7 separate regions of the Homo sapiens genome follow, and regions 1, 2, 3, 4, 5 and 6 are each linked to region 7. The links are contacts of gene promoters, found by promoter capture Hi-C in blood cells and fetal thymus (Javierre and others, 2016). All regions are on one chromosome and are shown on one strand. Each heading gives the region's core, a stretch centred on a gene start or on the middle of the fragment in contact. The rest is flanking DNA. Distances are from core to core; before and after follow the strand shown. Region 1 overlaps KANK1 (KN motif and ankyrin repeat domains 1). Region 2 overlaps KANK1 (KN motif and ankyrin repeat domains 1). Region 3 overlaps KANK1 (KN motif and ankyrin repeat domains 1). Region 4 has its middle 7.7 kb from the start of KANK1. Region 5 overlaps KANK1 (KN motif and ankyrin repeat domains 1). Region 6 overlaps KANK1 (KN motif and ankyrin repeat domains 1). Region 7 holds the start of DMRT3 (doublesex and mab-3 related transcription factor 3).

What was found. The method cuts DNA at HindIII sites, captures the fragments that hold promoters and counts their contacts. A CHiCAGO score of 5 or more calls a contact.
Region 1: a fragment that was not itself captured here is called in contact with the fragment with the promoter of DMRT3 in region 7 in 1 of 17 cell types (monocytes); the score reaches 6.7 in monocytes.
Region 2: a contact is called between a fragment that was not itself captured here and the fragment with the promoter of DMRT3 in region 7, in 1 of 17 cell types (monocytes). The highest score is 5.3, in monocytes.
Region 3: a fragment that was not itself captured here is called in contact with the fragment with the promoter of DMRT3 in region 7 in 1 of 17 cell types (monocytes); the score reaches 6.0 in monocytes.
Region 4: a fragment that was not itself captured here is called in contact with the fragment with the promoter of DMRT3 in region 7 in 1 of 17 cell types (monocytes); the score reaches 5.3 in monocytes.
Region 5: a fragment that was not itself captured here is called in contact with the fragment with the promoter of DMRT3 in region 7 in 1 of 17 cell types (monocytes); the score reaches 6.6 in monocytes.
Region 6: a contact is called between a fragment that was not itself captured here and the fragment with the promoter of DMRT3 in region 7, in 2 of 17 cell types (monocytes and M1 macrophages). The highest score is 6.2, in monocytes.

The regions. Positions count from the first base shown.
Region 1 is chr9:639,580-642,661 of GRCh38, reverse strand. All of the region lies in intron 1 of KANK1 (KN motif and ankyrin repeat domains 1), which reads right to left. Among named protein-coding and RNA genes, the nearest start is that of KANK1-AS1, 44 kb to the left of the region's middle. The HindIII fragment of the contact is 2,206 bases long and covers 565-2,770 here.
Region 2 is chr9:584,183-587,653 of GRCh38, reverse strand. All of the region lies in intron 1 of KANK1 (KN motif and ankyrin repeat domains 1), which reads right to left. Among named protein-coding and RNA genes, the nearest start is that of KANK1, 81 kb to the right of the region's middle. The HindIII fragment of the contact is 519 bases long and covers 1,545-2,063 here.
Region 3 is chr9:601,903-605,190 of GRCh38, reverse strand. The region is part of intron 1 of KANK1 (KN motif and ankyrin repeat domains 1); the gene reads right to left. Among named protein-coding and RNA genes, the nearest start is that of KANK1-AS1, 82 kb to the left of the region's middle. The HindIII fragment of the contact is 5,861 bases long and covers 1-3,288 here.
Region 4 is chr9:495,337-498,666 of GRCh38, reverse strand. It overlaps a transcript of KANK1 not described here. Among named protein-coding and RNA genes, the nearest start is that of KANK1, 7.7 kb to the left of the region's middle. The HindIII fragment of the contact is 2,413 bases long and covers 337-2,749 here.
Region 5 is chr9:621,669-624,976 of GRCh38, reverse strand. All of the region lies in intron 1 of KANK1 (KN motif and ankyrin repeat domains 1), which reads right to left. Among named protein-coding and RNA genes, the nearest start is that of KANK1-AS1, 62 kb to the left of the region's middle. RefSeq lists an enhancer at 2,441-3,308. The HindIII fragment of the contact is 1,186 bases long and covers 715-1,900 here.
Region 6 is chr9:553,829-557,261 of GRCh38, reverse strand. The region is part of intron 1 of KANK1 (KN motif and ankyrin repeat domains 1); the gene reads right to left. Among named protein-coding and RNA genes, the nearest start is that of KANK1, 51 kb to the right of the region's middle. The HindIII fragment of the contact is 3,607 bases long and covers 1-3,433 here.
Region 7 is chr9:974,970-978,186 of GRCh38, reverse strand. It overlaps DMRT3 (doublesex and mab-3 related transcription factor 3), which reads right to left and starts at 1,532. Exons shown (of 2, transcript NM_021240.4): 1 at 732-1,532. The coding sequence starts at 1,185. RefSeq lists enhancers at 1,365-1,864, 1,865-2,366, 2,899-3,217. The HindIII fragment of the contact is 15,659 bases long and covers 1-3,217 here.

The DNA of each region.
Region 1 (3,082 bases), core at 418-2,917, 340 kb after region 7:
GTCTGGCTTGAATTTTTCTCCCACTCAAAGGAGGGGAATTTTATCAGCTGGTAATTCATAGAAAAAATATAAACCATCTCTCTGTTCTAGTAGCTGAGTGTGTCCAAGAACCAAGAATTTTTCTACAGGAAATTTACAAAAGTGACCTTATGCACTACCAAGATTAGCAAAATCAAACACTTGTTCAAAACCAGGCCTGCCAGCTAAGCTCTACTCTTCTTGTAGTTTTTAGTTTGTTCAAGTGTAAGTCAATTTAGAGAAGCTGCTGTAAAAATAATGTCGACTTTTTAAGGTTAGGGAGGATGAGGAAATGGCTTTTTGTATGTGACCCTCAAAGGTTATTCCCTTCCGCTATCTTTGTAAAACACAAATGGGGTAACTTAACCACGCAGTTTTCTGCAGACTCATTTATTCTACGACCTTTCATGCTTTTATGATACAGAGGTAACAAGTCAGGAAGCACAATGAGGAAAGAGGTTAAAAAGCCCAGCATCTGCCGTGTCAGAAGTAAGCTGGTTTAATCCGCACAGAAATCCAAGCCAACAGTTCATGTGAGCTCAAGCTTTCTGACTATGGGCATCCTATCTCCAGTTACAACACAGTATTTAATATACCCATGGACACAGAAAGTAGAATAATGATTGCCTAGTGCTGGGGGGTGTGTGGTGGTTGGGGAGGAAATCGGCTTTTGATTGCCAATGGGTATGGGTTTTCTTTTTTGGGGTGATGAAAATGTTCTAATGTTGTTTATGCCAATGGTTACACGATTATGTTAATTTACTAAAAACCATTGCATCGTATACTTTAAAGGGTGGACTGCATGGTTTGTGAATTATACCTTAATAAAGTAGTCCTTAAAAAACCAAAATGTATGAATTTCCTTGTCATTACGATCAGGGTAAGCTGGTAGCTGAAGGTTAAGACAGGATGAAAAGGTGTTACAAGAAATGGCAAGAGAGTAAGATGTAAGATAGGTAGAGAAAAAAATCACTGTGTTCTTTCTCACTGAATCATTCCTCCATCAACAAAGGACACAGGCTACGCTTCCTTGCAGTTAGGATTTGAGGATGCCTCTGTTCCGAGTTTCTTCAGTACAGGGTAATATGCCTTGGAATCCCAACGCTTAGAACTCCCTAAACTTTGTGCAGCAGCTCCATTTGCATGTTGTTCATGGTGGTGGAGATGATCTTAGCCATTTCATAAAAGAAACCTGTCTCTTGGAAAGGATATACAGAGTACTAAGAAACAAGGATCACCACCAAGATGGATGTTCTACTTTCCTTCCAATGACCAAAGCAGGTATCTGATAAGGAGGATTCTTCTAACTCAGGAAACGACGATTAGGTAAAAGACTTTTATTTGTTTATCTGATAAAGACAGATTATACACATTCATGTCCAGACTATCCTTAAACATACTGTTCATATCTGATTGCATTAATTATCAGTTCCATGGGAGAACCCAGTTTCTTACTGCATTTCTCACCATCACAGGGCTTCTTCCCACACTGGACTACATTTTTCAGGCTTGAAGTATATCACTGGTATAAATGGAAAATTGGTTTGGGCTATCAACATGGCTCTTGGCAGCATCTATTTAAAAACTGACATCAAAATTTAGCTCTCTCTTTTAAAATTTCACTGCAACACAGACATTTAAAAGTGGTGGCCAGGCGCGGTGGCTCACGCCTGTAATCCCTGGACTTTGGGAGGCCGAGGCGGGCAGATAACAAGGTCAGGAGATCGAGACCATCCTGGCTAACATGGTGAAACCCTGTCTCTACTAAAAATACAAAAAATTAGCTGGGCCTGGTGGCGGGCACATGTAGGTCCAGCTACTCGGGAGGCCAAGGCAGGAGAATGGTGTGGACCCGGCAGGCAGAGCTTGCAGTGAGCCAAGATTGCACCACTGTACTGCAGCCTGGGCAACAGAGCAAGACTCCATCTCAAAAAAAAAAAAAAATTAGGCCGGGCGTGGTGGCTCACACCTGTAAACCCAGCACTTGGGGAGGCCGAGGCAGGTGGATCACCTGAGATCAGGAGTTCAAGACCAGCCTGGCCAACATAATGAAACCCCATCTGTACAAAAATACAAAAATTAGCTGGGCATGATGGTAGGCGCCTGTAATCCCAGCTACTCAGGAGGCTGAGGTGGAAGAATCACTTGAACCTGGGAGGCGGAGGTTGCAGTAATCCGAGATTACACCATTGCACTCCAGTCTGGGAGACAGAGACTGACTCTGTATAAAAAAAAAAAAAATTAGCTGGGCGTGATGGCATGCACCTGTAATCCCAGCTAATCGGGAGGCTGATGCAGGAGAATCGCCTGAACCCAGGAGGTGGAGGCTGCAGAGAGCCGAGATCACACACTCCAGCCCAGGCGACAGAGCGAGACTCTGTCTCAGAAATATAAAATAAAATAAAAATGATGTGTGCCCCCCAAAAAGGAGTTTCCATTCAGATGGACTACCCCTGCCTGAGCAGTGAGAATGAGAAGCCAAGAGTCTTTAACCTCATGAAGCATAGAGTTGGGAATACAAACTCTTGGTTTCTTAACTCAAATGTGGAGTTATCCTAAAATGAAGCTGAGTACAACGAGGTCTGAGAGACTGCTATGGTTCTCAATGTTTTGTGTCTCCCAAGATTTACATTTTGAAACCCAACCTTCAACGGGATGGCATTAAGGATGGGTCCTCTGGGAGGTGATTAAATCATCAGGGTAGAACCCTCACAAATGGGATTAGTGCCCTTACAAAGGGTTTGAGGAAGCTTGTTAGCTCTTTTGCCCATCTGCCATGTAAGGACATAGAAGGCACTATCCTTGAGGAACAGGCCCTCACCAGATACTGAATCTGCTGTCATCTTGATCTTGGAATTCCCAGACTTCAGAACTGTGAGCAATAAATTTATGCTGCTTATAAATTACACAGTCTGTAGCATTTTGTTACAGCAGCCTGAATGGACTAAGACGGAGACTTTACTTACAGCCTGAGACACACACAGAAGGCAGAGGGTGTGGCACTGTTTGGTAAATCATCTAAGATCAGGCCAGGCGCAGTGGCTCGTGCCTGTAATCCCAGAAC
Region 2 (3,471 bases), core at 555-3,054, 390 kb after region 7:
TACTCAAGTTGCAAAAATAGAGAAAGCTAACACAACAACACATGCACATATTCTAAAAACTTGGAAAATAATATAGTACAATTTTAACATTGATTATCTCTAGAAACAGAGTAACAGATTTTGATTTAAACTCTCTATTTTCTAGGTTTATTGAATAAAGCCTGCAATAAATTGAGTATCTCCATTTTTTTCAGTCTTAATACTCCTTTTGATGTATCAAGTTTCCCTAGTATTATCTAGTCTGTGCATATTGTGTTTATGAAAATGGGGTATTTATTGACTTAATCTGCAGAGTAATACAATTCACTTTTATTCTTCAGAGTAAAACAGCTTGCTCATATTTCATCCTATAAAAGTCTTTTCTCAATCATACATTTGTAGATCAAGAGCAGTCTGAACAGATCATTGGAGCATAAAAGACTAGGGAACAGATTCGTACCTCTAAAAAGCAAAGTTAAAGGAAACAAACATGACAACTTCATGATAGTTATAAAGAAAAAAACGATATGTTATCTTAATTATGTAAGGCCAGAAATTACTGCAATAAATATTTCAACTCCGTGGACAATTTCCTAGTGTGATCAAAAGATGAAAGTAATTCACTAGTTCAGAAGTCCATCCAGTATAGTGACCATCATTCTGAAAGGAAAAAGAAATGTTTTTGAGGGAAATGTAATGGAACAATACTCATTTTTAGGCTTGAGATCTGCAGGAGAGGGGAATCAATACTAGAGACTGCTACGCATTTTGGAAATCAAAGTACAGTTAAGCCACTTTCCTGCTGGGGGTGCAGGGGCAGGCCAGAATAAAAGGGAGCCTAAGATATCATGCAAAGAGTCCCTTTTGCTTTAGGTAAAGGCTAGCTATTTGCTCTCGTGACTCTCCACCACTGCAAAGAAAAGCGCTGGATCCCTCATAGCTTTCCACCTTCTGTTCTGTTCTCCTCCTCCGTGTGTTTGGTAGTACAAACATAATTCAGCACATGCATACCACTCTATTTTTATGTATTTTTTAATGTCTATCATACTTACTCAGACCACTCCATAACACACACATGGCTTTTCTCCTAAAACTGTTAATGGCAGTTCCCTGGGACTAAAACCTCGGAACTGTTTTCAAGTCATCTCTCTCGTCATTACCTTCCACTAACAGTCACCACCACTTTCCCCGAATGTCCAGCTGCTCTCTACCCCTTCTTTTTCACTCCTATCACACTGCTGAACCCAACTTCCTTGGCATACCTCATCTGTTTATAACAAGAGCCTCTAACTTGGACCCTCTGCAGATCACAGCCTATCCACTCTCTCTTACAGAGAAATTGCTTTCATCCTATTCCTGTAACCTTGAATAGGCCTGGGCCCATCCCCTTGACTGTAAAATGAAGAACTGGTCTCAACATTCTCCATCCTCACTGTGCTTTGAAGTCAGATGTCACTGGGCATGAATCCTGGTCCAGCCACTCTGCCAAACTTAGACAAGTATGTCTGCTCAAAATTCCATCTCACTATGCATAAAATGGGAACTAGTACATCTACTCCAAAGCTTGCTGTAAAATAATAATGACATCTTATGCCTTACAGATCACACAGCAGGTACTCAACAATATTGCTTATTCCCATCCCACCTTACAGAATCCCACAAACTTTGAAGTTCTCTTGTCTTATAACTTCCAAACCTAACGTTTTCTTACATCTACATCCCTAGTGATAATGATTTTCTCTTCCATCACATATAAACTCCCCTGTTGACCTTCAGTTCTTCCATTATCTATCACTACTTTATCTTCCTTTAATTTCCAATAAACGTCTTCTATTCAATCAGATTAGTCTGATCATTTTCCCAAGAACAAACACTTACACCCTGCCTTTGTGCCCATCAGTTCCCCATAGACTTTTCTTACCCCCTCTTTCAAGGCCCAGTTTGAATCCGAAGCCCCAGCAATGCCGACCTCGCAAACAATTTAACCCTCACACAATGCCTTAACATTATTGTCTACTCTTCCATGTTCACCAAGATTAGCTGTCCAGCTGACAAAGACTATTTGGATTATTCTAAGTTAAGCTTTTTACTTCAGTGTGGATTGTATTAGAGTTTTTACAAACTACATATTTTTTGGATCGGTTCTGTCAATGCTTTTTGAAATTCATAGGCCTTTGTGCCTTAAGGTAAGCGTCTTTTATTAATTCCATCATTTTTATTTGAGGCTGATACAAGGAGCTTGTTCCATCATCAATGGGTAGACCATTGGTAGACAATCTGACAGCTGTCTCAGGAAGCCAGATATGAATTCTAAGTATGTCCAATGTCTGTCAGATTTTGTGACAAAGTGAACGTGTTCTAATTGCAAGTACCATTTTAAGACCAAACTCTCAATGGCAGCAAGGATGATGCACAGCGGGCAAAGATGACTTGTTGCTAGAGTTTTACCTGAAGATGATGGTTGAAGCTCCAGGGGTAAATGAAAGTTCTAAGGGGAATCAGTAGAAGACACAGTGAAGGGTCAAGGGACATGGAAGAAGACACTGAGTGGTTACAGAGGCAGGAGAATAACCACAAGGGTGGAGAGGCACACAAGCCCAAAGAGAGTTGAGTAACACATCAAATGCTGCAGATAAGGACAAAATGTCACTGGGTTTAACAATAAGGAAGGGGGTCACTCATGACCCCTAAGGGCAGTTTTCAAAATGGCAGATACAGGATGCTGACTGCAAGGCATTGAGGAGAAACTGGGAGGAAGGCAAACGGAAACAAGCAGAGACTTCCTGCCAAGAACTTTGGCTCTCAAGCCAAAAGGTTTGTGCTGGTCATTTTCTAACCCTGAACTTAACAGCTCAACCAAATACCCAAGCTTGCTCTTCTTCCCTTGGTCCTCACCTGTCCATGTGCAGCGAGCCTGAAAGCTGAAGATAACTGACAGTTGACTGCAAACCCTTCCCGCCTTTTCTCTTCCAGCACCATCCTCACATGCCTGGTTTTGGTTCCCTAACAAATCTTACAGAACTATTCAACAGCTCTATGTTATCAAGTCTCAAATGCTAAGTTATATTCTTCTTCTGCTGTAGGTAAATGATAGTTACTTATTTAACATAAAAGGAAAGACACCAAAATGTGTCAAATCAACAGAACAGAAGTCTAGGTTCAGATCAAATACCATATTACTATCTTTGGATAACCTATGTAATTTATGCTGAATTATTAAAAAATAATTTTTCTTCCTTCAAAGTAGTACTTTGTTCTTTACTGTAAGTTCATAAAAATCAAAGAAAAAATAAAAATCATGAGGATAATTAGCACTTTGTTGAACCGCCTTCCACTTTTATATGTATGCATGACACATAAACATAATACACAAATGTGTAAGTGCATGTAAGTTTCACTAAAAGTAAATCATATGATATTACTTGTAACTTGTTTTTCCCACTTATTCTGATAGAAATTCTGTACCATTTAATAGTCTTGTATGCTTTCATT
Region 3 (3,288 bases), core at 149-2,648, 370 kb after region 7:
TAGCTGGGATTACAGGCGCGTACCACCACACCCAGCTAATTTTTCTATTTTTAGTAGAGACAGGTTTCATCATGTTGGTCAGGCTGGTCTCAAACTCCTGACCATGTGATCTGCCTGCCTCGGCCTCCCAAAGAGCTGGGATTACAGGCGTGAGCCACCACTCTCAGCAGGAGGTTTCTATTAAAAACAAATGAGATGGTATTTGCAAACTGTCAGACATTGCCCAATTGCATTAGTCCATTTTCACACTGCTATAAAGAACTACCTGAGACTGAGCAATTTATGAAGAAAAAAGGTTTAATTGACTCACAGTTCTGCATGGCTGGGGAAGCCTTAGGAAACTTACTATTATCATTATTTTTTGAGAGAGTCTCACTCTGTTACACAGGCTGAAGTGCAGTGGCACAATCTTGGCTCACTGTAACCTCCATCTGTCAGGTTCAATCGATTCTCCTGCCTCAGCTTCCCGAACAGCTGAGATTACAGGTGTGCGCCACCCGCCCGGCTAATTTTTGTTTTTTCAGTAGAGACAGGTTTCGCCATGTTGGCCAGACTGGTCTTGAACTCCTGACCTCAAGTGATCTGCCCGCGTTGGTCTCTCAAAGTGCTGGGATTACAGGTGTGAGCCACTGCACCCGGCCAGGAAACTTATAATCACGGTGGAAGGCCAAGGGGAGGCAAGGACCTCTTCTTCACATGACAGCAGGAGAGACAGAGAGAGACATGGGTGCAAGGGTGAAACTGCCAAACACTTTTAAACCATTAGATCTCATGAGAACTCCCTCGCTATCAGGAGGACAGCATGGGGTAAACCATCCTCATGATCCAATCACCTCCCATCAGGTCCCTCCCTCAACACGTGGGGATTACAATTTGAGATGAGATTTGGGTAGGGACACACAGCCAAACCACATCACCAGTACAATGTCTGACACATAGTGCTCATTCAATAAATGGTCATTATTAGAATCATCATTATTGTTTACCACGTCTCCAGGAAAGAGACAAATTTAAGGACCAGAATAATCAGAACAATAACGTATTTGGTACTTTGAATATCAGCTGTAACATTAATCTTAGACACTAATTTATTATGAACTGGTACCCCAACTTTTTGCTGAAATCACTGACACTCCATTCTCCTCCCCAAACATAAAGTGAATGAAAAAACAAAGACAAAGAAACCAAGCATGGTAAGGCCAAAATAATTTTACTTTTTTTTTTTTTTTTTTGAGACAGAGTCTTGCTCTGTCACCCAAGCTGGAATACAGTGACGTGATCTTGGCTCACTGCAACCTCTGCCTCCCGGGTTCAAGTGATTCTCCTGCCTCAGCCTCCAGAGTAGCTGGGACTATGGCGCACACCACCACACCCAGCTAATTTTTGTATTTTTAGTAGAGACGGGGTGGGTTTCGCCACATTGGCCAGACTGGTCTCGGACTCCAGACCTCAGGTGATCCGCCCGCCTCGACCTCCCAAAGTCCTGGGATTACAGGTGTAAAGCCACCATGCCTGGCCTACATTTTTTAGAAGAGAAAAATTCAAACGAGTATATTAATTAATGATAGAATCTAAGTAAAATATTTTGCTGTTCTAGAACTAGGGAAAGGTAAGGAAAAAGATGATTTTAGAGTTAAGGAACTGTTAAGAGTAAGAATTACTGAATGTCAATGTGATGTCTCTCTGCATAACTAGGTCTAAAGGCACCAAGAATATGACTTACATTACTAACCTTTACATTAGATGGAAGACACACAAACTGCTCTTAGTGAATTCTTCTGGCTGAGTTATCATACTATGATTAGCTATCAAAGCTACTTCAAGTTCTTATTGCTGCAAAGATAATTTACACATTCAGGGTCAAAGTCAGCCAGCCACGTTTCTGAACTGAAAACAATTCAATACTAGGCTTTATCTGCCAGTTGAGATTTGTGCCACACTCTGACACATTTAACATCATCTCCAAATTAATGTGCCCCAGGGATGGGATGAGTAGGGAAATTTCTTACACAATGCCACGGTCCAGAGGAAAAACATCCTTGAAAAAGATTCATCTTTCAAATCCTGATATAAATCTACTCTTAGATCTATATTCCAAAAGAGAATAAGAGACTCTTTCCCCATATGTAAGAAACAGGTGGTAAGGCCCACAAATGAGCTCTGAAGTAGAACAAAACGCTAAGGAAGATAATTATCACTGTGGATAAATATGATTTGTAACTATGATAACCCCATCAGCCACACGTGGAATGTGCCTTGACTGCATGTTTGGTTTTCACAGAAATAGCTCTTCAAGAGTTGAGATGTAATAGCAAAAATATGAAAAATTACAAAGGAGTCATGCTGGAATCTCATCTAAACAAGATCTATTTTGCAAGAACTAAAAGCGCAGTCAAAAGAAGTTATACTGAATCATCAAGGAGAACAGGCTTTCAATCTAAAATATTTTGTCAATGTCCTCTGACCGTAAAGACTTCACACATAAAATTATAAGGACAAAAATAACTTATCAAAAGTTTATGCAAAAAGAGTTACTTTATTATAGGATGATGAATCTGTAGTTACACATTGTAAATCCAGGTATTTACCTCTATAACTAACCAAAAGATATTCTCATTAAAATATGGAATGGGGGCCGGGTGCAACAGCTCACACCTATAATCCCAGCACTTTGGGAGGCTGAGGCAGGCGGATCATGAGGTCAAGAGATTGAGACCATCCTGGCCAACATGGTGAAACCACATCTCTACTAAAAATACAAAAATTAGCTGGGCATGGTGGTGCATGCCTGTAGTCCCAGCTACTTGGGAGGCTGAGGCAGGAGAGTCGCTTGAACCCAGGAGCGGGAGGTTGCAGTGAGCCAAGACCACACCACTGCACACCAGCCTGGCAACAGAGCGAGACTCCGTCTCAAAAAATAAAATAAAATAAAATAAATAAAAATGGAATGGGCTAAAAATGAGAGTCAGAAACTCAGGAATAGTTATTGAAGGAATGTCAAAAATGTCTGGATGCTAATGCTATCCTATCAATGTAAAAGTATTTTTCCACAAAAAGTTAATCTATTCCATTGATAAAGAACCTATTTTTCTACAGGGTATGTGCATTGATTTTAACAACTCAACATTAAGTGATCAAAATGACTTTACATCAAAGTGACTGACTACCTAGAAGTGTTAAAAACGAGTTTCAGACCTGGTACAACCATGTTCACAGGAAAGAGCTCACCATAAAACTCATGGAAGACAAAAAGCCACCCCAGTTGCAATGTGCACGTCTGGTACTCAG
Region 4 (3,330 bases), core at 294-2,793, 480 kb after region 7:
CCATTTGTATATTTTCTTTGGAGAAATGTCCATTCACATCTTTTGTCTATTGTTAAATTAGATTATGTGTCTTTTTATTATTGAATTGTAAGAAGTCTTTATTCATATCTGATAAGTGATACTAGTCTTTATCTGATATATGATTTAAAATATTTTCCTCCATTCTGTCAGTTGTGGGTCACAAGGAGGACTATCCTACTGACAGCATGCCCATGTTTAGAACCTTTCCTCTCCCTCCTTTCTCATCAAATCTAATTTGTCTTGTGTCCATTGTCTCAGAATTCAGTTAAGCTAATCTAGTATTAATACTGAACATGACCACGCGTTATACAAGCTTTGTAGTTAAAGAGCATCTGCCCTGGTTCCGAGTTTCACCCCATCAGCCCATTTCTGTAGTAGACCTTCGTGTGGTGCAATTAGTTATCTGCTAAATACTTGGAATTGTGTGCAAATAGCAATAGCCCAACTGTTGAATCTCCCCAAGCCTCAAGTTTCTTGTCTGTAAAATGGCAGTAATACCTACCTGTGCCTCTTTCATTAAGTTGCAGTAAGGATCAAACCTCACAGAGTAAGTTGGATCAGAATGAGCCTTGGGTATGCTGCAGGTAGAAATCTCGTGCCCTGAGTTTCCCATCAGGGCCTAAGAGGGTATATGGCAGCAAGGAAGCAAGTCAGGAGGGAGCAAGGAAGACACCCCAGCGAGAGATCCCCGAAGTCATACCAGACCTTTGGGACGGATGGAACTGGGGTGGTCCCTAGAAGTAATTTTCTTCTTTATACTCTTGTGTGTGTGGGTGTGTGTGTGTGGGGGGTTAATACAGGGTCTCACTCTGTCGCCCAGGCTGGAGTGCAGTGGCACAATCACGGCTCACTGCACCCTTGACCTCCCGGGCTCAACTGATCCTCCTACCTCCGCTTCCCAAGTAGCTGGGACCACAGGCACACGCCACCACGCCTGGCTAATTTTTTGTATTTTTTGTCAAGACAGGTTTTGCCATGTTTCCCAGGCTGATCTCAAACTCCTGAGCTCAAGCAATCTGCCCACCTCAGCCTTCCAATTTATACTCTCCTTAATTTCATTTAAAAAAATGGTTATATACTACAGTTATAATTAAGGGTTTTTTGAAAGTTTTTGTCCTTCTCAAATATTTTACAGAGCTGTGAGAGAAGAATTCTTGAACATTAAATGGAAGTCATGGTGGCAAGAGTGTGAGTGTGAGTGTGTGTGTGTGTGTGAAGAGTCACATGCATACCTGAGCACCAATGAGTCTCCCTCAGAGAAAAGGTGAACTGGGGAGGGCGTGCACAGTGGGACAGCTGGATTTGCTACCTGCAGATCCTTTCCAACGCCAACCTTGGAGGCTTGAGATTTACTAAGGAAAGCTGTGTGTTCCCTCACCCTTGCCCATGGTCATACTGCCCTTAAGGAGTCTTCTTTTCCTTTTTTTCTTTTTTTTGAGACTAAATGTTGAAGGAAAAGACCTAATTTATCACAACTTGCATATGATAGCCCCACACTTCTGGTTCCTGGAAACAACTGTTTGAAAGGAAAGGAAAGGACACATTGGTTCATTTGCTTTAGTTATTTTAAAAATCAAGTTACAATTCTGTTTACATTAAGCTGGAACCCTGTATGAATACATTTTCTCCGTGGCTGAAGGACATAATTCTAGTTCAGGAAATTGAGCTAAGAGTAATCTTCATTCATAATTATAATTATTATATCATTGTTACTATTATAAAATATTTATAGAGCATTCAGAATGTGTATGTCATTCTACTAGGATCCTAAGTAGAGGGATTATGTGTACAAACCTGTCCCTGCAGATCCACTTTATTTAGAACATTTATTTATTTATTTACCAAATATTTATTGAAGGCCTGCTGTGCTGAAAGTGCTGGGTTAGGCTTCATAAAGGACAAAAATAAGAATAATCCCAAGAAACTATCTGTCCTTTAAAGGGAGATGATACATGTGCAAAAACAACTTGTAATGCTATTAGACTTTGGCTTGAGAGACATATAAAATGTTGTTATAACTAAAACAAGAATATAATTTTATTTCTTTCATTTATTTATTTATGAATTTATTTATGTATTTATTTATTTTGAGATGGAGTCTTGCTCTGTTGTCCAGGCTGGAGTGCAGTGGCACGATCTCAGCTCACTGCAACGTCCACCTCTCAAGTTCAAGCAATTCTTCCACCTCAGCCTCCCGAGTAGCTGGCACATACAGGCATATGTGCCACCATGCCCAGCTAATTTTTGTATTTTTAGTAGGGATGGGATTTGACCCTGTTGGCCAGGCTGGTCTGGAACTCCTGGCCTCAAGTGATCCGCTCGCCTCGGCCTCCTAGAGTACTGGGATTACATGCGTGAGTCATTGCACTTGGCCAAGAATGTAGTTTTAATAATCAATAATTCTTATTGAGAGCTTACTTCCATGCTTGGCACTGTAGTTAAGTGTGTTCTCTGAACCAATTTACTTCTCCTGTAAGGTAGTCATGATTATTATCTACAGTTTGCAGACAAGAAGAATGGGGCTCACAGAGGTTCAAATAGCTGCAAGAAGCCACAGTGCCAAGTGGTAGAGGCAGAATTTGAACCCAGGTTGCTGGAGGCCAGAGCCAGAAGTCCACCCTGACCCCTTCCAGCTGGGACAGTGTATGCATTGTGGTGTGTGTGTGTGTGTGTGTGTTTAATTATGCTAGTGATGATAACTTTACACTGAGTCACTGTCACTGAAGCTTTTCTTCCTCAGCAAGGAAACCCTGACCTGGTGACCTTTTGATCTTAACCTTATAGCACCATTCTCTAACCCAGCAGGTTTCAAACAACTGAGCTGTCATTTGAGCCTCAGAGCCTTTTCATCAGACAAACTTTAATGGGAGATAAAAATGAAGGTTTTTCTGAACGAAGCTGAATGGGGCTGGGGTGGGGTGGAGGGAGTCTTCCAAGGGAGGCAAGGCATTGCGGGGAGGAAAAGAGACTGCGCCACATGATTATCACAGCTGAAGCCAAATACACTGATGTCAATAAAACCTCATGACCTGATGAAGTTTTAGAGTTAGTTATATTCAATGCTCCTTGATATATGAAGTGCAGCTGCCTTCAATCATGATTTTTTTTTTTAACGTTGAAGATAGCATGCTTACCTAGTGGTCCTCAACACTTTGTCAGGAAGGTGGGTAAAGTCAAAAGTTGAGCACCAAAACCAGCCAATCTGAAGAAACTAAGTTGGAGGCACGATGGCTCTCTGCTCATAGGATCTGGTTACGTAAGAGTCTTTTATTGAAGGCTGTATTTGATTGAGACCTGGTATCTCTAACA
Region 5 (3,308 bases), core at 58-2,557, 350 kb after region 7:
AGTTAAATAGCTTGCTCAGGGCATAAAGTAAGTCCAAGTCAAGGTTTAAGCTTTTAAACTGAAGCCTGTCCGGCTGCACACCCCTTTTCCTCAGAGATGGGCTCTCACTGGTGGCTTGGTAAGGCAGCTATTTTTTTCATTGCGTTTTTAAAGGGGATATTGTTTTTGTTTGTTTTTTGAGACAGAGTCTCGCTCTGTCACCCAGGCTGGGGTACAGTGGCGTGATCTTAGCTCACTGCACCCTCCACCTCCCAGGTTCAAGTGATTCTCCTGCCTCAGCCTCCCGAGTAGCTGGGACTACAGGAATGACTACGCCCGACTAATTTTTGTATTTTTAGTAGAGATGGGGTTTCACTATGTTGGCCAGGCTGGTCTCAAACTCCTGATCTCAAGTGATCACCCACCTCAGCCTCTCAAAGTGCTGGGATTACAGGCATGAGCCACCACACCCGGCCTGTTTTCATCATTGTTTTTAATGCAACTTTTAGGATGCTTCTGATTTTCCTAATTTTATTGAGGAATAATTAATAGAAATTATACGTATTCAAAGTATACAATGTGATTATTTGATATAAATATAGATTGCATATTGATTCCCATAATCAAATTAATCAACACATCTGTCATCACACATAGTTACCCTCTGCATGGAGAGGGAAAAGACTAAGGACGCTCCCTAATCTCCAGAACATATTCATCTTATAAATGAAAGCTTGTACCCTTTGACCAGCATCTCACCGTTTCTCCCATGCCCCAGACCCTGACAATCACCATTCTACTCTTGGCTTGTGGATTCAACGTTTTTATATTCTACATATAACTGAGATCATACAGTATTTGTTTTTCTGTGTCTGGATTATTCCACTTAGCATAATGTCCTCCAGGTTCATCCATGTTGTTGCAAATGGCAGGCTTTCCTTATTTTTATGGCTAAATATTATTCTATCCTGTATATATATACCACATTTTCTTTAACCATTCCTAAGATAAATGGCACTTGGGTTGTTTCCATATCTTTGCTATTGTGAGTAATGCTGAAATAAATATGGAAGTGAAGATATCTCTTTGACATACTAATTTGATGTCTTTTAAACATATATCCACAAGTGGGACTGCTGGATCATATAGTTGATTTTTACAAAACTTCCATACCAATGTCCATAATGGCTGTACCAATTTTCACCCTAATAGCGTACAAGGGTTCCCTTTCCTCCATATCCTTGTCAAAACTTGTTATATTTTGTCTTTTTGATAACAGGCATCCTAACAAATGTGAGATAATATCTCATTGTGGTTTTGATTTGCATTTCTCTAATGATTAGTGATGTCAAGCACCATTTTTCTTTTTTTTTTCTTTTTCTTTTTTTTTTTTGAGACACAATCTCACTCTGTTGCCCAGGCTGGAGGGCAGTGGCATGATCTTGGCTCAATGCAGTCTCGACCTCTTCGGGTTCAGGTGATCCTCCTGCCTCAGCCTCCTCACCTCAGTCTAATGGGTAACTGAGACTATAGGTGCATGCCACCACGCCTAGCTAATTTTTGTATTTCTTGTAGAGACAGGGGTTCACCATGTTGTCCAGGTTGGTCTGGAACTCCTGGACTCAAGCAATCCACCTGCCTCGGCTTCCCAAAATGGTGAGATTACAGGCATGAGCCACCGTACCTGGCAAGCATCTTTTCATTTACCTGTTGGCTATTTGTGTGTCTTCTTTGGAAAAGTGTCTATTAAGGTCCTTTGCCCCACCTCCACTTTTTTTTTTATTTTAGTATTGAGTTGTACGAGTTTCTCGTATATTATGGACATTGACCTTTTACCAGATATATGGTTTGTAGACATTCTCTCCCAGCCTGTATGTTACCTTTTCATTTTGTTGGTTGTTTCCTTTGCCGTGCAGAAGCTTTTTGGCTTGATGTAGTCCCACTTGTATGTTTTTGCTTTTGTTGCCTGTGCTTTGAGGTAACAGCAACAAAATCATTGCCAAGGCCAATGTCAAGAAGCTTTTTTCCCCTGTGTTTTCTTCTAGAAATTATATGGTTTCAGGCCTTACCATTAAGTCTTTCTTTTCTTTTTTTTTGAGATGGAGTCTCGGTCTGTCACCCAGGCTGGAGTGCAATGGCATGATCTCAGCTCACTGCAACCTCCGCCTCCCAGGTTCAAGCCATTCTCCTGCCTCAGCCTCCCGATTAGCTGGGATTACAGGTGCTGCCACCACGCCTGGCTCATTTTTTGTATTTTTAGTAAAGATGGGGTTTCACTATGTTGGCCAGGCTGGTCTCAAACTCCTGACCTTGTGATCCGCCAGCCTCAGCCTCCCAAAGTGCTGGGATTACAGGCATGAGCCACTGCACCCGGCCTCTTACAGTTAAGTCTTAATCCATTTCAAGTTGATTTTTGTATATGGTGTTAAGGGTCCAATTTTATTTTTTGGCAGGTGGATATCCAGTTTTCCCAACAGTATTCTTCGAAGAGACTGTCCTTTCCCCCATTGCGTATTCTTGGCACCCTTGTCAGGATGCTTCTATGCAATCCTCCAGGTACGTACTAGATCCATCTGACATTTAGGTCATTATGCATTTATCATTTACTCCCACTGGATTTTAAGCTTCTTTCCAGGGCAGTGACCATGACTTATTTATCCTGTAGCAGTCTTTCACCACACCTAGAGCAGTGCCCCAACACACAGCGCTTAAGAAGAGCATGAAGTGACAATATACACAGATTATTAACTTCTTTGTGCTCCAAGGGAAGTCTTTTATGGATACTAAAAGTAGAAGTCATTAGTTCCAAATAAATTTAAACAGGTTTCAGGTATTCTTCTACTGACCGAAATTAGACCATTCCTTGTCCCCCTTTTCCTTCCATCCCTTATAAATTCCCATGACACAACAAACGAACAAAAGCTCTAAAAGTAGACTGTTGTATGAAAAAGACCCTGAACCTATCAGTTTAAAGAAAACCTGGAAAAATTTTTAATGAAAACCAAACTTAGTATCTTTTCTTCTCCTCTTCCCTCCTTCCTTCCCAAGAGGCTTCGGCAGCACCAGGGCTCCCCAGAACAAACCAAAGCCCTTTGGTGGAGCATTTGGATTTCATCTCCCATCTGGACTGTACCCCTTCCACCGGCGAGGGCAAAGTTCACATGTGAAGTCTACAGAGTAAGATGCCATGATGGGTAATGTGGGGATTCAGGAACAAGCGAGTGAGTAAGCAGGGCTGGAAACTGAGATTTGAGCTGCGTTTGTGGTAGGCTCTGCTTACGAGATGGGAGGGCAACCCATGCTCTTGCTGAGAGCGAAGGAAAGAGGAA
Region 6 (3,433 bases), core at 463-2,962, 420 kb after region 7:
TATATCTTTTCACTTATAAGAACATCAGTGTGCATTTATAACTAATGAATAAATTTTTTTTTTTTTTTTTTTTCCTTTTGAGACATGGTCTTGCTCTGTCACACAGGCTGAAGTGCACTGGCGCAATTTCATCTCACTGCAGGCTCAACCTCTCAGGCTCATGTGATCCTCCTGCCTTGGCCTCTCAAAGTACTAGGATTGCAGGCATGAGCCACTACACTCGCCCAGAAATTTGTTTTTAGAGTAACTACCATGCCATTAACAAACCTAACAAAATTAACAATTTCTTATCTTCAAGAACTCAATTCATATTCAAATTTTTATCATCTCAAAGCTGGTTTGTTCAAACAGGAGTCCAAAGTCCCCATACTGCATGTCATTACTGAGACCATACTGGGACTAAGGCAGGGAGGAATGAGCCCTAAGTGAGTCTGTAACAAGCGAGAAAGCAGCTCATTCAACTAAAAGAATTAAATTGGAGGTCTGGCCCAAGAAAGTGGAAAAATAAACAAAGAAAACTAAAACTATTCAGGAACATCATGAAGCAGGGCAAGAGCTAGAGAGAAAAGTACCAAAGGGGCTAGCAATTTGAGTAAGGAGAGTAACTGGACAAATGACAGAATTATCTTAATGGAACAAGGACTTTAGCTTTAAAAATCTCACTTTGGATCAATGAAGTAATGAGAAACAGTTACTAAAAAGCAAAACCGCATAGTCATTGTATCTAATTCCTCAAATTTTAGTTTCATAAGCACCTTTGTACATCATAGCACTTTAATAATTATAAGTTTAAAATGATCATGGCTAACTCCATGAGACTAAGATCTGGATCTGGCTGACTCCAGAGACTAAGACTCACCACGTAGTCAGAGGAGAGCACAACTCAGAAACCAAGGTTCCCTAAGTCTTCCCTGGGAATCACTAAACTCACATTGAACTTCTAACTGCATCAGATACAGACACATACAGAGAAAAGTTTTATATAAGCAATGCATGCTCGTTAATTAAAAAAAGAAAATTAACCAAGATAAATTCTAATACTTCTCACTTTTTGAGGTTTATTATCAGAAATAGCTCTAAAATTTCTCCTCCTCTTTAAAATAAGATTTTTTAAAATGCTTCTGTATTCAGTTACAATTCTTTGGGTATTTTCCCCCCAAGGTAGAGCCAAAACAGACTGTAGAGAAAGAAGAAATAAGAACTACAACTTAGTACCCCACCAACAACTTTGCAGCAGTATTTTATAGTATGATTAAAAAGTCATTTTAAGTATAACTCTGAAAATGTTTAATGATTACTTTAAATGTGAGCACTGATGTTTGTCTACACAAGTTAATGATGTTATTATAACATCATGAAGGTTAAAAGTTGTTTGTTTTTATTTAAACAGAAGGGGTTGTCGGCATCTTTATCACCACTAAAGGTAGTTTTAGCATTTCAAAGGGATTTTTTCCTAATTGTATTTTGAGAAACACATTTCTAAAAACACGTATGTACTAGGAACTCACAGATCTTGTCAAATTGAATATTTCATATTCCAGTACAAGTCTGGACACATCAAATCTAAAGGAATTTCTTAAGGCTTAGTAAACCAACCTCTGTGATTTCATCTCCAGCCAAATGGGAATCTTACGCTTTTACAGTTATTTCAGCTAATTCTCAGTCACTGCAAGAAGACAAACGCAGCAAAGGTTGGATGCTGAAACATTCCAGAAAAAGGATAATCCCCATCATATACAAACTATAGTATTTTACCTAATTGGTATCTGAATCCTGATTTATGTTCACTCATTTGATTTATTTAATTTAGCAGTATAGTGACTATGCCATATACATAGCAGACTGAGTGGAAGAGTTTATCATCACAAAGCTGACACTGCACAGTTTGCACATCTAAGTCACGTGCCATCATGTACATGGTGTGGAAGGTAGGGGAGGCAGGTGTCCCCACTGTCTTCCCAATAGTGGTGATGGCTCCATAGAGTCATCGTATCACCCTTGACTCTTCAGGACTTCAGATCGCCATCCTGCTTTGGATTACTGACGTGGTATAAGACTAGGAAATGGCTTTCTCAGGGATTAGCTACTGGCCAGCTCATTTCACGAGCACTTATTACTATCCAGGGGTTCTACTGTCTTATGACTTATTAGTTGTTCTCAAAGTGTGGTCGCTAGGCCAGCAGCAGAAACATTACCTGGTATGCAGGTTAATTTCACGTGCCAACTTGACTGGGCAAACGGATGCCCAGGCAGCCGGTAAAACATTACTTCTGGGTGTGCCAAGAAGAGATCAGCATTTGAATTAGTAGACTTCACTAACTCTCTTCCTGTTTGCCCTGAGAATACTTGCCCATGGTGCTTGCAGCTGCAGTGTTTACCCCAAGATAACCTTGCCACGAAAGATCTCGTTTTTTAAATTTTCACATCGTTCTAGTATATCGACTTTGGAAACAAAAGACATCATCCTATTTATAGGATTCTGTTTTTAGTAGTGGCATTTCCATTTACAAAATATAGTAATTCTCAATTGCTGAAAATGTCAAATCCTAGAAAACATAGCATTCCTATGAGTGATGTTAACATCGTTCTCTAACAGTTGATGGAAGATTCATTTGATGAATCCGATTTTTCTGAAATAGATGATTCTGATAATTCAGATGGTTGTGATGTTAGTTCTGTTTAGAAATAATATTTTCTATTTTATTTTCACACTGAAAATCAGTCCGATTTGCTTTAGCCTCCAACAGCCTGTTTATGTAAAATTAAATAAGCACTGGCCACAAACCGCACTTTTTTTCTAAGTGGGAAAAGGGTTAAGACCGCCAACATGGATGCTCATCAGTGTGGATGGGTGTCATCCAATCAGTGAGGGCCAGAATAGAACAAAAAGGGAGAGGAAAGGCAAATACTTGCTCTCTGCTTGAGCTGGAACTTCTATCTTTTCCTGCCCTCAGACATCAGCGCACCTGGTTCTTGGATCTTCAGACTCAGATGGAGATGGAAACTTACGCCAGGTGCTCCCAGGTTCTCAGCCCTCAGACTCAGACTGAATTACACCAATGGCCTTCTTGTTCTCTAGTTTGCAGATGGCAGATCTTGAGACTTCTTGGGGAACATCCTGGGACTTCCTGGCCTTCGTAATCACATGAGCCAATTCCTATAATGAATCTCCTTCCTAATATACCTATGCTGTCTCTTTGGAGAACCCTCATACAGCTGGTAACTTGTCAAAAATGTACATTTGTACGCCAGTCCCAGAACTCCTGAATCAGAAGGTCTGGGGTTGGAGCCCAGCTATCTGTGTTTTAACATAATGCTCCAGAGGACCCAAATGCACGCTAAAGTTTGAGAACCACTGCTATAAATTATATTTTTTTAAATGAGCATTCATTCAGATTTCCATTATATTTGGGTTTAATTTCCATTAAACCTA
Region 7 (3,217 bases), core at 283-2,782:
CAGTGTTAAAGGATCTAGGAGGTTCTGCAAAGGAGTGAATTCTGGGCGCATCAGATTCTTTTCCCGCTATCAGCTCACAAGCCTTTCCGGACCCTTTTACTATCATTGCTAAATGGAACTTATTTCACCAGTTACAAGAGTCTGGAGGCCACGGAGCAAAGCTAGAAAGGCCAGGGTTCTGAGAGTTGGATACTTGTCCTCACTCAAATTTTCCTGGGCCCTGGGCAGGGCCGGGCCGGCCGAGAAGCACAGCCAGCTCGACTCAGCCGAGTGTTGGCCTTGGCTCCTTCCCTACACCTACCTACCCATTCCAACCCCCAAATGGCAAGGACCTCTAAAGCCTGCAGCCAGGAAAATCCGACCCCACCGTAGTGAGTGTGCGCACGTGGGTTTTAATTTTGTCCTGTCTCAACTCCGTTGTCTCCCTGCTCAATCTGACACGTTCCGAACCCTTCAACCTGGGAAGGCACCTGGCGATACTGACGCACAGTCCCGTCGTTTGGCTGCCCGGAGGCGCCTTCCCTGCGGGCGCGAGTGCCACTCGCGCTGGGTCCAGACTCAGCCGGCTTCTCCCGGGAGAGGAAGCCCCGGCCTGGCGGAGAGTAGGAAGGAAAGCCCCGACAGGCCCACGTCCCAAAACTTTGCCTCCAGTCCTCCCAAGTGGAGCTGCAGCTGGCACTCCGAAGTTGCCCCCGCGCCCGGCCAAACTCCCGCACCTCAGACGCTCTTACCTGGCTTGGCGAGCTGCGCCTGCAGAGCCCCGGGCTGCGGCTCGGCAGTCCAACGCAGCGCGGCGGCCGCGGCCAACTCGGCAGCAGGGCGCGGCGGCTGCGGCTGCGACGGCTGAGAGGCTGGCGGCGGCTGCGGGGCGGCGACGGCGTCCCCCGGCGGCGGGGGCCCTGGCAGAGCGCGCAGCGAGTCGGGGATGAGGCTCTCCAAGCTCTCGTTGGCCTGCTGCCGGCGCAGCGCCACCTGCGCAGCCATGACCCGCTGCCGCTCGATGATGAGGATGCACTTCTCGCAGGTGCAGTCCTTGAAGCGGCAGTAACGCTTGTGGCCCTTGAGCCAGGACAGGACGCCATGGTTGCGGCAGCGCGCGCACTTGGGCGTGCGCTGCAGGGGCGCCCGTGGCGGCTGCGACACCGGGCCGCCCATGTACAGGTAGGGGGAGCCGTAGCCGTTCATGCCCCGGGCTCCCGAATGAGTTGGCAGCCTGGCTGCGGGAGAGGGCCAGGGAGCGCTGGACGGCGGGGCTGCGAGGCCCGCTCAGGGGCGGCCTCCGGGCGACGCGGCCCTTGGTCCCGCAGCCCCGGTGGTCGTGTGTGCTCCGGGGCGGCCGGAGGTGCCGCAGTCGTCTCTCCAGCTCCCTTCGCGCTCACAGCTCGGCCTCCCAGCTCACGCCCAGCCAACGCCGACGCGGGCCTCTGCCTTGGGCGCGCAGCCGGGTCGGCACGTCCTCCTTCGCGGAGGCGCTGCGGCGGCTGCAAGGAGCCGGCGACAGCTCTGATTAAGGTCTGAGCCAGCTCTTCTGCAGCTCCCTCGTGAGCCGGCCGGACCCAACACCTCCGCCGCCCTCCCCCAACCCCTCCTCCTTCCCACCGCCACCCCCGCCCCTGGGGTCCCTGTCTCCTTGCACTCCCCGCCCCACGCCTTCCTCCTCCTTTGCGCCCCTCGGGTGCCTGCACTTCACCTTCCTTGCCACCTGCAGCCAGGCCACTCTCGCGGGGGCGCTCGCGGCCCCCTCCTCCAAGCCCTCTCCGCTACCCCAGCCCGCGGCTGGAGACTGCGGCGCTCCAGAACGCGGCGGTGCTCGCGGGGCGGAGAAGGGGAGGACCAGCGGGAGTGAGGGTGGGGGTGCCTGTAAGCGAGTGAGGTGGCCGCTCCGCTTCTCTCTCTTCTCCTCCCTCCAGTCCAGATCTGGCCGCGTTTTTCCGAGCCCAAGGCCGCTTTTATCCCGACATTTGGCCGCAGAAGCTCAGCTCCGGGAGAACTCGAACCTACGGGAGTGTTGCGGTTGCACCCCGGACCTGGGTGGAGTTTAGGATAGGGGAGTGAAGTGATGTTGGTTTAGGAAAGTTAGGCTCTTTTCGTAATTTCCTTTTAGAACGTATTTTTTTCTCTTTTGTTGCTTTAGAAGAAAATGGTTTTGGAGATCTGCCGGCCCAAGGATGACAAGCCATTTTGCAGGCGAATTTTACTTTTCTACCCTCCTGTCCATGTTTTAATATAAAACAGTATCCTGAAAGGTCAGGGACGTACGTGCTCCTGTAAAGGATTTGTTAAGCGCCGGGTATAAACTTTCAAGGGGCAGACACAGAAGCCACATTGGCGCCCCCAAAGTTACCGATATCCTCTTCCCTCGCTCCCAGCAGCTACTGGAAGCAAACGGAGGTCTTGCGCCAGCCACTCAGTTCAAATCCCCACGGATTCTGTGATTCAGTTATGGATATGGGATGGGGCCACTTTTTCACCTCCTTAACCCATAGACCCCAGTCATAGATGTCTTGGGGGAGAGGGTCCTTCACAAGATGACAGCAGAAAACTTTGTTTAGATTATTTGCGTGTTCCCATTCTCCCAGGAGTAGCGGGCTTGGCCTAGTGCAGACTATCGCTATATATGCACAAAGAAGGCCCTCCACCCTCGCACCTCCCCACTGCCCATCAGCAAACAAGCAAAAACCAAAAAACAAACAAACAAACAAAACAAGTGGATACACTGCAGGGCAGCACAATAGCTCTATGCGAAGCGGGGCAGTTCCAGAGCCTTCGGTGGATGCGCTTCTGAGAGCGTGCACCAAGCCCATCTCCTGGTGGGGAATCAAATGCTAGATGAGAGCGTAGGCAAGTCCGCTGCAATGTCCGACCCCTCATGGGCACAGAGGCCCTTGTCCCCTCGGGGAGGCCGCTTTTCTCTGTACTGCCCTGGAAGTAAGCAAGCAACCTGAAAACTTTCCTCTGGTGTTTGCCATGAATTCAAGGGAAGCACCTCCAGGCGTTCTAGCAGCCAACCCTCTGCCCAGAAGGCTGATTTGCGGAGAGGAGGGTTGAAAACCGAACCCCAGTTGTGTGTTTCCCTTGAAGCCCTTAGCTGTTCCCGTTTCATACGCGTCCGGGAGGTGGGGATCGCGGGACACTGACCTGGTAGAGTGTGGACAAGAAGCTCTAGCATTCGAGTGCTAACCCTGGGAGGCCATCCTCCAAAGCCGCGTGGGGTAGG